Regions from separate parts of the Homo sapiens genome. Here all the other regions are linked to region 1. Evidence: promoter capture Hi-C in 16 types of primary human blood cells and fetal thymus (Javierre and others, 2016). All regions are on one chromosome and are shown on one strand. The core of a region is centred on a gene start or on the middle of the fragment in contact, and the rest is flanking DNA. Distances in the headings are between cores, read along the strand shown. Region 1 holds the start of POLA1 (DNA polymerase alpha 1, catalytic subunit). Region 2 overlaps KLHL15 (kelch like family member 15). Region 3 holds the start of ZFX-AS1 (ZFX antisense RNA 1).

Evidence for each region. Contacts are between HindIII fragments. The CHiCAGO score rates a contact against its expected background, and 5 or more counts as called.
Region 2: a fragment that was not itself captured here is called in contact with the fragment with the promoter of POLA1 in region 1 in 1 of 17 cell types (fetal thymus); the score reaches 5.1 in fetal thymus.
Region 3: the fragment with the promoter of ZFX-AS1 here is called in contact with the fragment with the promoter of POLA1 in region 1 in 4 of 17 cell types (fetal thymus, monocytes, non-activated CD4 T cells and 1 more); the score reaches 12.3 in fetal thymus.

Annotation. Positions count from the first base shown.
Region 1 is chrX:24,690,867-24,695,884 of GRCh38, reverse strand. It overlaps POLA1 (DNA polymerase alpha 1, catalytic subunit), which reads right to left and starts at 1,967. Exons shown (of 37, transcript NM_001330360.2): 1 at 1,881-1,967. The coding sequence starts at 1,923. RefSeq lists enhancers at 1,706-1,795, 3,498-3,998 and a silencer at 1,986-2,145. The HindIII fragment of the contact is 2,747 bases long and covers 381-3,127 here.
Region 2 is chrX:24,020,519-24,025,536 of GRCh38, reverse strand. KLHL15 (kelch like family member 15) reads left to right here. Exons shown (of 4, transcript NM_030624.3): 2 at 479-680. Among named protein-coding and RNA genes, the nearest start is that of KLHL15, 4.2 kb to the left of the region's middle. RefSeq lists silencers at 1-199, 280-349, 360-509, 520-599. The HindIII fragment of the contact is 6,826 bases long and covers 1-5,018 here.
Region 3 is chrX:24,147,646-24,152,663 of GRCh38, reverse strand. ZFX-AS1 (ZFX antisense RNA 1) reads left to right here and starts at 3,010. Exons shown (of 3, transcript NR_046657.1): 1 at 3,010-3,109; 2 at 3,822-3,911. It overlaps ZFX (zinc finger protein X-linked), which reads right to left and starts at 2,935. Exons shown (of 10, transcript NM_003410.4): 1 at 2,870-2,935; 2 at 864-973. RefSeq lists silencers at 1,929-2,438, 2,489-2,538, 2,559-2,968, 3,029-3,388 and enhancers at 2,479-3,292, 3,499-3,598. The HindIII fragment of the contact is 5,789 bases long and covers 1,200-5,018 here.

The DNA.
Region 1 (5,018 bases), core at 718-3,217:
CAGAGCCTGGCAGAAGGCTTATACCTAGTAGGTATATAATAAATATTTGCTGAATGAACCAATGAATGAACCACTGTACCTGCTTTTTTGATCATTAAACTTTCCCTGGCCGGGCGCAGTGGCTCATGCCTGTAATCTCATCACTTTGGGAGGAAGAGACAGGTGGATCACCTGACATCAGGAGTTCAAGACCAGCCTGGCCAACATGGTGAAACCCTGTCTCTACTGAAAATACAAAAAATTAGCCGGTGTGGTGGTGGGCACCTGTAATCCCAGCAACTCGGGAGGCTGAGGCAGAACTGCTTGAACCCAGGAGGCAGAGGTTGCAGCCAGCTGAGATCACGTCACTGCACTCCAGTCTGGGCAACAAGAGGGAAGCTTTGTCTCAAAAATAAATAAATAAATAAAAATTCCCTGATCTTTTTTCATATATAGTAACAGCTAGTTACAGACCTTTCAACTTTTCACTGCCATTATCAAGGTGCCCTGCCTGCTAATACTGAAGAAAAAAAAAAGCCTACATTTTGTTTTTTGGAGTATGTCTCCAATGCTTCACGTAGGTAACTTAGCAAAAAAAGAATAAGCATGAAAAAAATCCAGCTACAAAGGTTTAAATATTTGTTTCAAAATTACCATCTGGAGTATCTCTATCCTCCCCAAAAGCAGACAGACACTAGCTTACAGCAGTCTTTCAGGTAACAATCCTTCAGTCTGCTCTAAAGGAAAAATTCCAGTCACAAGTCCCCAGCAACTACTTAATGAACACCATGACCTAAGAGGAGTCTCAAGATTGCACAGTATCCTCCAAAGTGATTTCCTGATGTTCATAGATGACGTAGTTTTTAGGATGAAGAAAGGGCTTAGTGGCAAATCACTGATAGAGGCCTGCAAAGACTGTTCGTTCACATACTTACACCCAACATCCTATCTGTAATCCAGGCAGGTCGACTCTCCAAAATAGTCTTAAAAAACGAACGGCTAGAACAAATTGAAATCTGTGACTCACAACTAGGTGAATGCAAAGGAAGCTGATTAGGAAGCGAGTTCTCATTAATGGTGATGTATCTGAATGACAGGAGAGGTGACGCTTGAGCTAACAAAGTGAAGCATCTGATTTTAAGTTAGAAGTTAACTGAAGTCACGCTTTAGTTGAACACTTAAAAAATCAGACAAATCTATTTGCATTTTTGTATTCTATTTTTGGAAATAAAAGACACCCCTGACAAACGGAGTGATATACAGGGGATCCGAAATGCCCTAAATTGATGCCATTTTTTTGAAACTTCACCAGGAATGACTAGATTGTGAACAGGATTTCTACGCAGCACTTGAAGAACTTTCCAAAGAATCTGAAAGAAAAATTGTTAATGCATAAAGTAGAAACCCATTACCTAAAAATACAAAACGCGTTATTCCCCGATGACAGCACTTAGAGCTTTCTTTCCTGCTTAGTTACAATGTATAAAATTTTCCTGGAAGTTCCTACAAAAAGGGACACAGATCTGTTCTGTTCAAGCCTTCAAGTGGATACTTAGGGAGATCGCAGTGAAATACTTTCGGCCCCACGGGGCCAGTCTCAATAAAGTTATACCCAGCACGTGGGTGCAACTCACCAAAAGAAATAGAAACGCAATCGACTGTGGAGACTCTCAGTGGCAGAGGTGAGACAGCCTCCCAAACAAAAATCCCTCCAGGCTCTGGTCCTCCAAGAGCAAACCGCGCCTAAAGGAAGCCCGGTCCGACGCCAGAAGGGCCCCCGCCGGGGACGACCAAGGTCTGCGCCCAAACAAACCCGGGTGTGCGCCTCCCTCAGAACCCCCACCACCGGCAATCATGCCACTGTCCCAACCCGGAGCCCCGCGCGCGGAATTGTCCCTCACCACTCGCCCCTATCTCACAGTCGTCGCCGTGCACAGGTGCCATGGTCCCGAATCTCCCGATTCCGCGCCAACCAGCCCAAAACTGGCGCGGGGGCCGAGACAGGCGCCAGCCTGAAAGCCAATCAGCGGCTCGGGAGGCTGCGGACTTCCGGCCGGAAGGCCACTGACGTGCCGCGCCGCGCCGCGCTCCGCCCCCGGCCTTCCCGCGGACGCGCGTTTGGCGCCCTGTGATGACCCCTTAGGGAAAAGCTAGAGCTGAGGGGAAGCCGGAGGAGAGCAGGAGAAAGAAGCGGTCGGGCGCTGGAAAGGAGCCGCCTGGAGACTGCGCAAGCGCACGCATGCTGATGGGAAAAGATTTGGGCGCGTGGGAGAAAGGGCGCTCTGGTTCTCAGAGCCCATTTTCCCGGAAAGGAGGCGCGGGCGGGCAGGAGAGTGGGCGTGGTTGGATCGTTTTCCCCAGAGCCGGGAAAGCGACTGCCTCCTGCTGCGCGCCCTGAATTTTGCCTGATAGTTTGCTTCTCAGCAGTCTGGATACAGTGGCTGTGTGATTAACAACTTAAAGATATATGCTCCGTCTTAACCAAATAACCAGAAGTAGCATTACCAATAAATGGCCATCTGATCTCATATGCCTCCTGATGTAATGCGTATGAAAAAGGAAAAACTTCGCCTATATGGTCTTCTTGCAAAAAATGTCTAACCTGAATCTAACCATGAAGAAACAATCAGATGTATTCAAAATGTAGGACAATCTACAAAACACCTGACGTGAACTCCAAAATTTCAATGTTATGAAAAACAAAAAGGGTATTCAATTTTTGTGTATGATACAATGGCTGTAATGTGTACATCTCATGTTATCTCTTTCCAAAAAGGTATAACATTTTTATTAAATAATGCCTGCCACACATTTGTATTTTTTCCTACATTATTGCCCACATGCTTATTGATCCCTTCTTCATGTGACAACAATTTTGTAATATTTTCTCCAAAGAGGATATAAAGATAATTCAATCTGTCTTCTAGCATGGTTGATCAATACTTGTTTCTTAATTTCTGATTGTTTAGAAAATGTCTTTCAGCTTCATAATCATTTAATATCATGTTATGTGATCCATATGTTGTGATACATAACATGTAGTAATTTACACTTAGACATAACTTCCTATTTAAAGTACTACGACAGATTTATTCCTACACTTCCCTTTTAAAAACTGATGGAAGTTTTATAGTTTTATTATCAAGCTTTTTCCAACCAGGAGAGAACCATGTTGGCTAGTCATTAATAAGAACCAAATCCTTACCTTAACAATTTCACAGCTGATTACTTCCCACATGCCCGGGTATAACTCTAGGCATTTCAAACCTCTTTTCTCTTTCACTACTGCTGTGGTCTGAATGTTTCTCTCCACATAAAATGTATGCGTTGAAACCTAATCACCAGTGTGGTGGTGTTAGGAGGTAGGGCCTCTGGGAGGTGATTAGGTCATCAGCAGGAACCCTCCCTCATGAATAGGATTAGTGCCCTCGGAAAAGAGGCTCCAGAGAGCTGCCTTGCCCCTTCTTCCATGTGAGAACAGAGCAATAAGGCACCATCTATGGACCAAAAAGTGGGCCTACCCCAAACACTGAATCTGCCGGCACCTTGATCTTGGAATTCCCAGCCTACAGCACTGTGAAAAATAAATTCCTGTTGTTTATTAGCCACCCAGTTTGTGGTATTTTGTTATAGCAGCCTGAACAGACTGAGACAATGACCCACATACTTTGTGGGAAAAGACCTGTAGGACACTTTCTCTTTTTGAGATGGAGTCTCGCTCTGTCATCCAGGCTGGAATGCAGTGGCACCATCTCGGCTCACTGCAACCTCCACCTCCCAGGTTCAAGCGACTCTACTGCCTCAGCCTCCCGAGTAGCTGGGATTACAGGCGCCCGCCACCACACCTGGCTAATTTTTGTATTTTTAGTAGAGATGGGGTTTCACCATGTTGTCCAGGCTGGTCTTGAACTCCTGACCTCAGGTGATCCACTCATCTCAGCCTCCCAAAGTGCTGGGATTACAGGTGTGAGCCACCATGCCAGGCCAGACACTTTCATACCATGATATGTCTTCTGGCCCTACACTTTCAGTTCAAAACTCCTGGTAAGTCATCACACTGGGGTAGAAATATTCCTGGAAGCTATTCCTACACCAAGAAGTCTATGAATAACAGCCCGGCGCTGTGGCTCACGCCAGTAATCCCAGCACTTTGGCAGGCCGAAGCTGACAGATCATGAGGTCAGGAGTTCAAGACCAACCTGACCAATATGATGAAACCCCATCTCTACCAAAAATACAAAAATTAGCCGGGTGTGGTGACAGGCGCCTGTAGTCCCAGCTACTTGGGAGGCTGAGGCAGAAGAATAGCTTGAACCCGGGAGGCAGAGGTTGCAGTGAGCCGAGATTGTGCCAGTGCACTCCAGCCTGGGTGACAGAGTGAGACTCTGTCTCAAAAAAAAAAAAAAGTCTATCAATAACTTAAGTATATATGGCTTAAGTATATATGTGGGTTAAGTGCCTTCGACCCACATAAATAGAAGAAATAAGCCCAAACTAAATGCAATATCAACTCCATTTCCCCATAGTGGAATCCCAAAATGCCTATGCCTATTTCACTGCTACTATGCAAGAAGCGAAGTGTATCAGAGGGACAGTTGGAGGTTCTCAAGAGCTGATTGTTAAATATTCCAGTATTTTGTAATCTCCATGTTAAACTGTTGGTAGCTTGAAATCAGTCATGGTGGGAATATTTACACCCTGGAAATTGGCAAGTGGTACAAATCAGAGCTTTTTATTTTTTTAAGGTTTACCAGCAAACCACCAAGTGGAAAGTAGTCATATCTGATTGCAGCTAAAATATCTTACTTTTGTAGATCTACCATTTGATCCAGCAATCCCACTCCTGGGTATCTACCCAGAGGAAAAGAAGTCATTATACATGATAGATACTTGCACGCGCATGTTTACAGCAGCACAATTTATAATTGCAAATATATGGAACCAGCCCAAATGCCCATTAATCAACAAGTAGGTTAAAAAAAGTGAGATATGTGTATATATACATATGTGTGTGTGTATATATCTCACACACACACACA
Region 2 (5,018 bases), core at 891-3,390, 670 kb after region 1:
TTCCCACCCTCCGCCCTCTCTCCCAGCGTGGCGGCCTTCCGCGTCAAGACGACAGCGCACTGGGCCCCCTGCCGGCCAGCCCCGCCTCCCTGGGCGGGCCCCGGGCGGCTCCCGCGGCCCGCAGGGGGCGCGCGGCCCGGAGCGGCCCCCGGCTCGTGGCCCCGCACGCCCCGCCCCTTCCCCGCCCCTTTCCCGCCTTCCTCCACCCCCGGCGTGGGTGATCCCGAGGCTCGGCGCGCTTCGGGGCAGAAGCCCAGAGACGCCGTCCTCGACGCTTCCTCGGCTGGTGCTTCTGTCTCTGCCTGCTGCCCCCCAGCCCTTTTCCCCGCCCGCGGCCCCAGTCGGCCCTCCCGCCGAGCCCCGTCGGGTGCTGCGAGGCCCCCGGCGTTGGCAAGGTCGGTCCGGGCCCCGACGCCGCGCCGCCTCGTGCGGAGCCCGACTGTCTGGTTTCTCGACTCAGCGCTGTCTTCTTTCCCAGGACTTATCCAGAGGGGGCTGCAGGCGAGCACTCTCGTGCCCCGCCGGAGCGACCCGGCTCGTGCCGGGAGCGGCTGCTCGTAGACGTCCGAGGAGCCTGCCGAGTGCCGTCCCGGCGCCCGACCGCCCACCCATCGGCCCGCTGGCCCGGTTCTTCCTGATGCAGACTGCCGTCCACTAGAGGCTGGACAGGACCCCCCGAGGTACGTAGCCGCCCCTGGCCGCCGGCCTGCGGAGCCCGGGCTTCGCCCGCGGCCCCGAGCTAGGCACGAATTCGCCGGCCCTCTCTGCACGGACCCGAGTCAAACATTTGGTAGACGCCGGGACCTCGTTTGTCTTCGAGTTTACTTAAATTGTTTGAAATGTAATTTTTTTTTCCAGAGAGAGCGAGAAAGAAAAAGGAAGAAGCATAATTCAGCCATTTTTTGCAGCACACAGCTGCAGGTACCATGATTATTTTTTGCCTAACCCGTTCCTTCCCTTTAACAATTCAATTTATGCCTGAAATAGAACTATGCAAAATGCGAGGCATAAAACTAGGAATCGGAAGGTCTGGGTTCGACTTGGGTGACTCTGAGAAAAAATCGCGTACCGAGCCTTGGTTTCTTATCTATGAAATATAGTCGGTACTACCAACATCGCAGGGTTGAGAGGACTATATGAGGTCATATATGTGAAAATAATCCTTAACTGTAGAGTGTTGTAAGAATGCAAGGCCGTTTTTTAAGTAACCTTTGGTAGAGTGGTTAATGTAGTGGCTAACTGTTGCTGCCTCTTTATTTCTATATTATAAATATAAGCAAATAAGTACGGAATAATAGTAAAGCAGTGCTGTGAATCCATAGATCTGTAATAGTCACGTTGCTTGGCCTTCCTCCTACGAAGTGCTAACTGCTTATTTAAATAACGGTATTCTTTAATTCAAATGTAACGTTACCGTAGGGGCTTTGCTTTTCATCGTTCTAGGCCGCTTTAGGCCCCTTTTCTTACTCCAAATATTTAACACCTTACATTTGTTAGTCTTTTCTGTTTTCCGAATTTGTTTGCCTTTGTTAATCTGATTAAGTGGTAATTTAGAAAATGCTTTGCAGACATATATGCCCTAATTTTAATGCCTGTTTTTCATATCTAGGGAGCAGGATGCTTGAATACTTCTACTAATTTGAAAATTGGTTTTGAAGAGCTTATCAATGCATTCATGTTTCAGTAATCCTTAATAGATCTAGAAATGTATAGAACATTTCAACTTTTTAGCACTTAATGTAATTATATAATTTTATTCTCATTTTTAATCACAACACGTAGTAGGTGCTTAGAGTCACAGTTTATCAGTGGTAGAGGATGTTAACTTGCACTCTTCATTGCTGATTAATTTGGGGAAAGAATAGGATAGTAAATATTTGTGGTTTGAAAATTGAATTTATTTTGCCAGGATTTATATGTGTAACAGATTAGTATTGATCATTTTTACTTGGCATATCAAAAATATAGTATGGTTTGGCTTAAATGGTCCACAAAAAGTGAAAAGAGAAGCATTTTTGGGTATATTGTTATTTTTAGCTAACAAATGGTTTTGAGTAGTTAGATGTTTTATTAAATTTATAATCCTCTAGTCCAATACCAGTTGTCTTTCAGAGTATGCTTTTGTGTTTTGTAAAAAGGCAAAATAATAGAAGTTGGGCAGGATTTACATAGTAAAAGGAAGAGCCTACTTCAAAGTGGCTGGTTTTATAGATTGGATTTATCACTAATCTTGATAAAATTTTGACAAATCATTGCTTTATTGGGGATTTCAAGGTTTGACCTTCTCTCTACCTCGAGTCGGGTTATCTCAGAAACCTAACCTTGATCAGGGCAGGCTTGGCTTCATGGATGTTCAGAAGGGCCCCACACTTGGTTTAATAATCTGCATGTAAAACTGGGATTGTACAGTATAAGGGTGAATGGTAAAATTCATGCTAATTTAAATTTTTAATTTTCCTTTACTCAGAACGACATTAAACATCAAATTTAAAAAACACTGAGAGCCGGGAGCGGTGGCTCAGGCCTGTAATCCCAGCACTTTGGGAGGCCGAGGCGGGCGGATCACCTGAGGGTCGGGAGTTTGAGACCAGCCTAACCAACGTGGAGAAACCCCGTCTCTACTAAAAACACAAAGTTAGCCTGGCGTGGTGGCGGGCGCCTGTAATCCCAGCTACTCTATTCCCAGCTACTCGGGAGGCTGAGGCGGGAGAATCGCTTGAACCCGGTAGGCAGAAGTTGCGGTAATCCAAGATGGCGGCACTGCACTCCAGCCTGGGCGACGAGAGCAAAACTCCGTCTCAAAAAAAAAAAAAACCGCGAAACAGTTGAGAGATACAGAAGAAAGTTTTGAAAGAGCTTTACATTTTATTACCTTTAACGACTTTTTTTTTTTTTTTAAGACAAGAGTCTTGTTCTGTCGCCCAGGCTGGAGTGGAGTGGTGCGATCCGATCCCCGCTCATTGGAACCTCCACCTCCCGGCCTCAAGCGATTCTTGGGCCTCAGCCTACTAAGTAGCTGGGATTATAGGCGCTCGCCACCACGCCCGGCTAATTTTTGTATTTTTAGTAGAGACGGGGTTTCACCATGTTGGCCAGGCTGGTCTCGAACTCCTGGACTCAAGTGATCTACCCGCCTTGGCTTCCCAAAGCGCAGGCGGGAGCCACCGTGCCCAGCCTTTTTTTTTTTTTTTTTTTATCTTTTGAGACACAGTCTTGCTCTGTCTCCCAGGCCGGAGTGCAGTGGCGCGATCTCGGCTCACTGCAACCTCCGCCTCCCGGGTTCAAGTGATTCTCCTGCCTCAGCCTCCCGAGTAACTGGGATTACAGATGCGCGTCAGCATGCTTGACTAATTTTTGTATTTTTAGTAGACACGGGGTTTCACCATGTTAGCCAGGCTGGTCTCGACTGACTTCAAGTGATCCGCCCGCCTCGGTCTCCCAAAGTGCTGGGATTACAGACATGAGCCACCGCGCCCGGCCATCGCCCAGCCTTTTAACAACATTTTTCCCTGATTTTGAACAAGAGTCCCCGCAAATGATGTAGGTGGCCTGTTGTCAAGCCTGGCCTTTCCCAGTGCAAATGTTTTGAGAGTGAATAATGTTAACTGTGAGGAGAATGAATCTTTAGCTTAGAGGAGGTGGATTACTTTATTAGCATCTATTTTCTCTGAATTGGAGTGCTATAGCTCATGTGGTGCTTTTTTTTTTTTATTGAAGAGAAATGAAAGATGGAGCCATGGGTGAGGCATTGTAGAACAGTGTTTAATAGGGGAGGCTATGAAGTCAGGCAGACCCCAACTTCACAACTTACTAATAATTATAGCCTTGGGCAAGTTACTTAACCTCTGTGAGCTTTGATGTTCTCATCTTTAAGTCGGGGATGGATACAAAACATGGAAGGTTGCGAGAATTAAATTTATCTGTCTTTCCAACAAATATTTATTAAGCACTTATTATGTGCCAAGCACTGTTTTAGGTGCTGGAGATGCAACAGTCAGTGAAGCAAAACCGACAAATTGAAGCAGAAAGGAAACTAAGTAAAATGGATAGCCTGTATTGCCATTTAATATACTGCAGAGAATAATAAAGTGGAGGGGCATGGGGATTGTCAGGTTGATGGGGCAGATGGGGTTTTGCAACTTTAAAAGAGGGTGTTTGAGGAAGGCCTCACTGAAATGACACCAAAGACCCTAAGGGAACCATATATATCTGGGGATAGTGTGATCCAGGCAGAGGGAACAGGGTGTAGAGAGGCCTTAAGTTGGGAGTGTAGCTGGTTTTCAAGGAACAGCGGCACCAAGGGAGATAGTAATATAAGATTATTATTATTGCCATTTTAAGAATCATTGGAAAGGCTCTCATAGTTCATCTCTGCCAAGGGTATATGTTGTATTGCTGCTGGTCCAAAAGTGGAAGACCTTTTCAGAATTTGAAATTTTAACTTTGCAAGTAAGAAATTAGGAAAGACAAAATATGTTGTCAGGTTTTCTGTTTTTAACGTAAGACCCTTAAAGCTCATCAGGCTCAATCACTGAAACATGTAAGAATGGATAGAAAAAAATACCCTTTGTCTCTGATAAGATCTTTGAATTTAGTTAATGATATATATTATAGACTAATGATTTGCAGGAAATCTGTATCATAACAGCAAGACTTTCCAAAATATTTAGTTTGGTTGTATAATTCTTATGAGGAACTGAAAGGCTAACATTACAGTATTTGTGATTTCATGTTAGAATAGAACTTAGAAGATTTGGGGTTTTATTCCCCAATAGAGGCTTTTCCTAGAATTCTCACTGGATCCAATCTCTAAAGGCTAGGGAAGCTGTTTTCCATGACATCACTCTTGGACTACTTCTAGTCATAGTGTGGAATAAGCAGAGAAGCATTAAATTAAAGTCTTCTGATGAAAAATAGCATTCAAGCAGGGTTTTTTTTTTCTTATAAGGCTTCTTGTATTATAGGATGACGAAATGCTAAACATACCTGAAAAGTGAAGTAATTTGGTGCCAGTCTGG
Region 3 (5,018 bases), core at 1,761-4,260, 540 kb after region 1:
CAACAACCACAGCCCGCCTTCTCAACTTGCTTCTAGTCAGCCTCATGCAATGCACTGTTTCTCGAACTTTTCTAAACCATAGCCCTTTATAATAAACATGAGACTCTCATTCCCTCCAGCCCTTTCATGGAGCACCGCTGCTCACGACCTGTTACAGTCTAGAAAAATGGAAAAACTGAAAATGGGTATCTATGCCACCTAAAGGTTTCCATCATAAAATTCTAGGAAACAGGCAGGGCACGGTGGTTCATGCCTGTAATCCCAGCACTTTGGGAGGTCAAGGCAGGCAGATCACTTGAGGTCAGGAGTTCGAGACCAGCCTGGCCAACATGAAACCCTGTCTCTACTAAAAATACAAAAATTAACCAGGCATGGTGGCAGGGTCCTGTAGTCCCAGCTACTCGGGAGGCTGAGGCAGGAGAATTACTTGAACCCGGGAGGCAGAGGTTGCAATGAGCCAAGATCACACCACTGCACTCCAGCCTGGGCGACAGAGTGAGATTCAGTCTCAAAAAAAAAAAAAAATTACCACGGGAATACTCATTTCTCATTTTCGTCAAATAACCCACAGCACTAGTCCTGTACTTTTCAACCATGGTAAATGAAATGTTAGAAACCCCTCCCTATTTGTGTACCATAGAAATTCTGACAACTCTGAGCAAAAGATTATTTCGGATGAGAAATCAGGATAGAAAAAAGGAGCAGCTGTCTTAATAGAGACGCATCGTTCCAAAAGTAGCAAAATTTGCTTAACTTCTGAACATTCTTGTAATCGTTCTGATAATGAAAACACTGATCAACTTACTACTCTCATTATTTTTCAACTTTGAAACTTTTCCTAGTCCAATGGAACTACTAAGTACCGTAAAGCACAGCTCAGGGAACAGACGGCAGTGACAGGCGGGCAGTGGGAGGCGGGAGAACGGCTTGAGCCCAGGAGTTCGAGACCAGCCTGGGGCAATATAGCAAGAACCTGTCTCAAAATAAAAAATAAGTAAATAACAAGGTGCAGCTCAGGTGTGCCATCACTCTTCTAGTTGAGGGCACCCCCGCTGCCTACCCCATTGAGTATAAGCCCCTCCACCTGGCAAGCAAGCCCTTCTGCAATCTAACTTTTCTAGCCTGAATTCCCACCACTCCCCTACCTATACCATCCACTTTTGCCAAACTGTAAATACTTACTGTTTACTGAAGAAGCTTCACCCTTGAAACGTCCTTTCTCCACCTCCACCTCTACCTAACAAAGTCCTACCCATCCCTCGGTAACCTTCTCAAAATGCCACCTATTAATACTTCAGGAACCCGTCCCTCCCTGATCCTCCAATGGCAACCTTGCTTCCCTCGGAAATCCCAGTAATTAGTTGTACCTCTCACTTTACTGCATTTCACCTTGCCCCACCTACCTCTAAACATGAGACTTCTTGCAGCCACCGTCTGCATTACAAGAACCTTTTTAATGTTTCTTAGCATCTAGCACGGTGCATCGCTAACAGTAGGCTCCGAGTTTATCAAGAAAGTTGCACAGTGTGCAATCAAAAAAGTACGTTAGGGGATGAAACTCCGCCTTAAAACTTCACAAATGAAAAATCGAAATACCATGACAGGCAAATGCACAATAAATATGCACCACACTAAGTTGTCCTCCAATAAGAAAATAAAAAAGTCTGCCCTTATTCCTCGATTTAAAAAAATACCACCAACAGATCACTACTTAAATCGTTTTTCAAGAAAGTTGTTTCCACATAAATGAGTACGAATGATTCAAAATTTTATTCCTCCGCTCTCGTGTTGTGCAATTTTTTTCCCTATAGGACAAAAGAATGGCAAAAACTTTCCCATCAATCTTTATTTTTCTTCCTTTATTCAGATACTCGGGGCGGCAAAGATTGTTGGAAAAACAACTGCATCGAAAGCACCTTAGCAGCCACATATGATTTGACTTAAGCAAAAATAACATTTCCTGGGGTCCCGTATGCCCTGGTAAGCCCAGGTGTCCGGAATGCCACCTGCCCCGACTGCCCTCGGGTGGCTACAGGCGCGGGGGAAGGCGCAGGGCCAGGGGCGCTGAGGGTGAAACGGTCCCGGCGTCCGGGCGGCGGCGGTGGCCGCCTGCGGCAGCTCAGCTGAAACGCAGCGGAAACTGCAGCCAGTCACGGGGCTGCGGGAGGCAAGGCAGGAAGGTGGCGCTGCCGCCGAGCGCCTGGAGCCCGAGCGCTCATCATGGCGGCAAGGGCAATGGCCGCCACGGGGAGCGAGCACGCCCCTCCGCGCGCACACGCCGCCGCGCCGGGCCTCCGGGGCCCGTCACCGGCGCCGCTGCCGCCGCCGCCCGCTCTCCCACCCCCCCTCACGGGCTGTAGCGGAATTTTCTCTCCAGACACCGCCTCCAAGATGGCGGCTCCCCCTCCCGGCAACCCCCTCTATCGTCCCCTGCAGCAGGCGCCGAGCCGCCGCCATCTTGTCCCCCGTCCCTCCCCCCCCCTCACCGATATTTACATAGCGAAAATCGGCCCGGCCGGCCTGCGGCCTTCACCTCACGCCTGCAGCCTTCGCCTCCTCGCCAGGCCTCACCCCGGCGCGGTGCCCCAGGTCGGCCGCGGAGCCGACCCGGGGCCCCTCGACCGCCTCCGGCACAACCGGGCGACCCTCCCCCAACCCCCGCCCGCTTACGGAGCGCGCCTCCGCCGCCGCTCGGGGCAGCCGGGCTCCTCCCCGGGCCTAACTGCGGCCTCCTCGGGGCCTGCTCGGCGCCGCGCGCCACGCCGCCCGGCCTAGCGCGGGAGGGCGCCTTGCGGGCCGCCGACCAGGCCGAGACCAGGCCGCTGTGCGCGCACTAGGCCCCGCGGCCGCGGCGGCACCCGGGACTCACCGGACGGACGTGCGGGCGGCCGGCGACGGTGGCGGGTGCTGCAGGCCGGCCTTTCTCTGGAGCACTGGGCCGGGCTCCGGCTGGTGGGGCGGGCGGAGGGAGGGAGGAGGGGCCGAGCTCGGAGCTGACAAAAAGCGGCCCAGCTCCCCGGCACGGGCCCGCCGTCAGCACGTCACGTCACCGCCCGGGAGAGAGACCCAGGAAAATGCGGAAGGGTAGACAGGCCCCCTCCTCCGCCCGGTGGGTCCTCCTGGCACCCCGTGTCGGCGCCGCTCCCGCCCCGCGACCGGGGAGCCCAGTGGCCTCGCTGCGGCGGGGTCTCCGGCGGCCGGAGTCTCCGTGACAGCGCCCCCCTTCTTTCCACCTCCTCCGCGCTCCCGCCCGCCGCCGCCACACACGCGCCGCTGCCGCCGCCGCCTCGGCCGTAAAGCCCGCGCGGGGCCGCGGTCGGCCGACCCCGCGGAGAGGCAGGCGGCCCGGCCGCCCCCCACCATGTCCCGTGGGCCGCGGCCGCCCCCCGGGGGCCTCCCTGGAGACCTACCGCCTCTCGCGCCGGTCCTGGCCGAGGCTCCAGCTCGAGTTGTTTGCAGGCCCTCAGACCCCCGCCCGCAGTAAATGTGTTTTCTTCATCCCCGTGGCTGGGGAGGAAGATAAATTTAGCAACCCCCGCCGTCCCCTGCCTTCGCTTAAAAAAAAAAAATCTTTGAAATAAAATGAAAACGGGCTTGCCAGTCTAAATGGGTGTGCGGGAAGGGGGGTGGAGTGGGGGGAGAAGGGTTATCCCTAGAGCACCTACCAGGCCGTCTACTTTTTAAAAATAAGCAGTCAGAGCCAAACTGATTTTATTAGTTTGTACGGGGGAGGGAGATGAGCAAAGTTGCATTTTGAAACGTTTCGCACGTTGCAAAGAACAGGAATTTTCTGTGTATTTTCCTATGTACCCGTGTTTCAGAGCTTGGGAGCCTGTGAAATGTAAGACTGGTGTCATCGTTTCATAAATCATGAATTTTCCACATTCCTTAATAGAGAGGAGCCCAATTGGGTATGGATTTTTTTTTTTTTAAACACACTGCTTAAACAAGCCTTTTGAAGTTTCAAAAGACTTGGGAGAGAAGGGGAAAATGATTAAACAGCACTTACCAACTTCAAAAATGTGTATTTCGCACTTTACTTAGTTTAAATGTTTATGCTATCTTTCCATGCTGAACTTGGAACCCAAACTCTGTTTTAAAGTTACTAGGGAAAAGTTAAATAGTGGAGTCTTTACATTAATCTGGAATCTGGCATGCTATCCTTTAACACAGCACTAAATGTTAAAGGCATTTTTAAACAATAAGAAACACAAAAATTATAAAGCAAATAGTATACTGGTGTGAAATCTCTTTAAATACAGAGGCCACGTATTTTAGTTGCCTGACATAACTCTTTAAAACTCCCAGAATGCAATTTGTCCCTTCCCTCAGACATCTCTCAATCACAAATGCTTTCAAAAAGGAAAAACAAAAGTAGAGTAAGAAGAAATCTCTGAGCATGCACTGGATGATAATTTTCCTCTCGGGGCTTTAGTCTGAATTTTTCCAAGCGATTAAATTTCCTTTCAAAAATAGTAACAGCATGTATTCATTGTTTATAAAAATTACATCAGGCTGTGATAGACTTTCACAGAAAGACATTTCACAGAAAGGTAAATGAAACTAAGCAATGTTGTTTCAATAAAAAAAAATGAGAAATAGCTTGTGTGCCCACATTAATATTTCTTGCACTCCCAGACTGGAGTGCAATGGCGTGATCTTGGCTCACTGAACCTCTGCCTTCGGGGTTCAAGCGATTCTCCTGCCTCAGCCTCCCGAGTAGCTGGGATTACAGGCACTTGCCACCACGCCTGGCTAATTTTTCTATTTTTTTAGTAGAGATGGGGTTTCACCATGTTGGCCAGGCTGGTCTCCAACTCCTGACCTCAGGTAATCCACCCGCCTCGGCCTCCCAAAGTGCTGGGATTACAGGCGTGAGCCACCGTGCCCGGCCGCCCACATTAATATTTCAAAACATTGATAATCAGCGTTTAAGTACTTTCCAAGGGCCTCAGTGTGATGCTACGGTATGGCAAGAATGGAGGCCAGGTTCCCTGGTTCAGTCCTGTAATCACAGC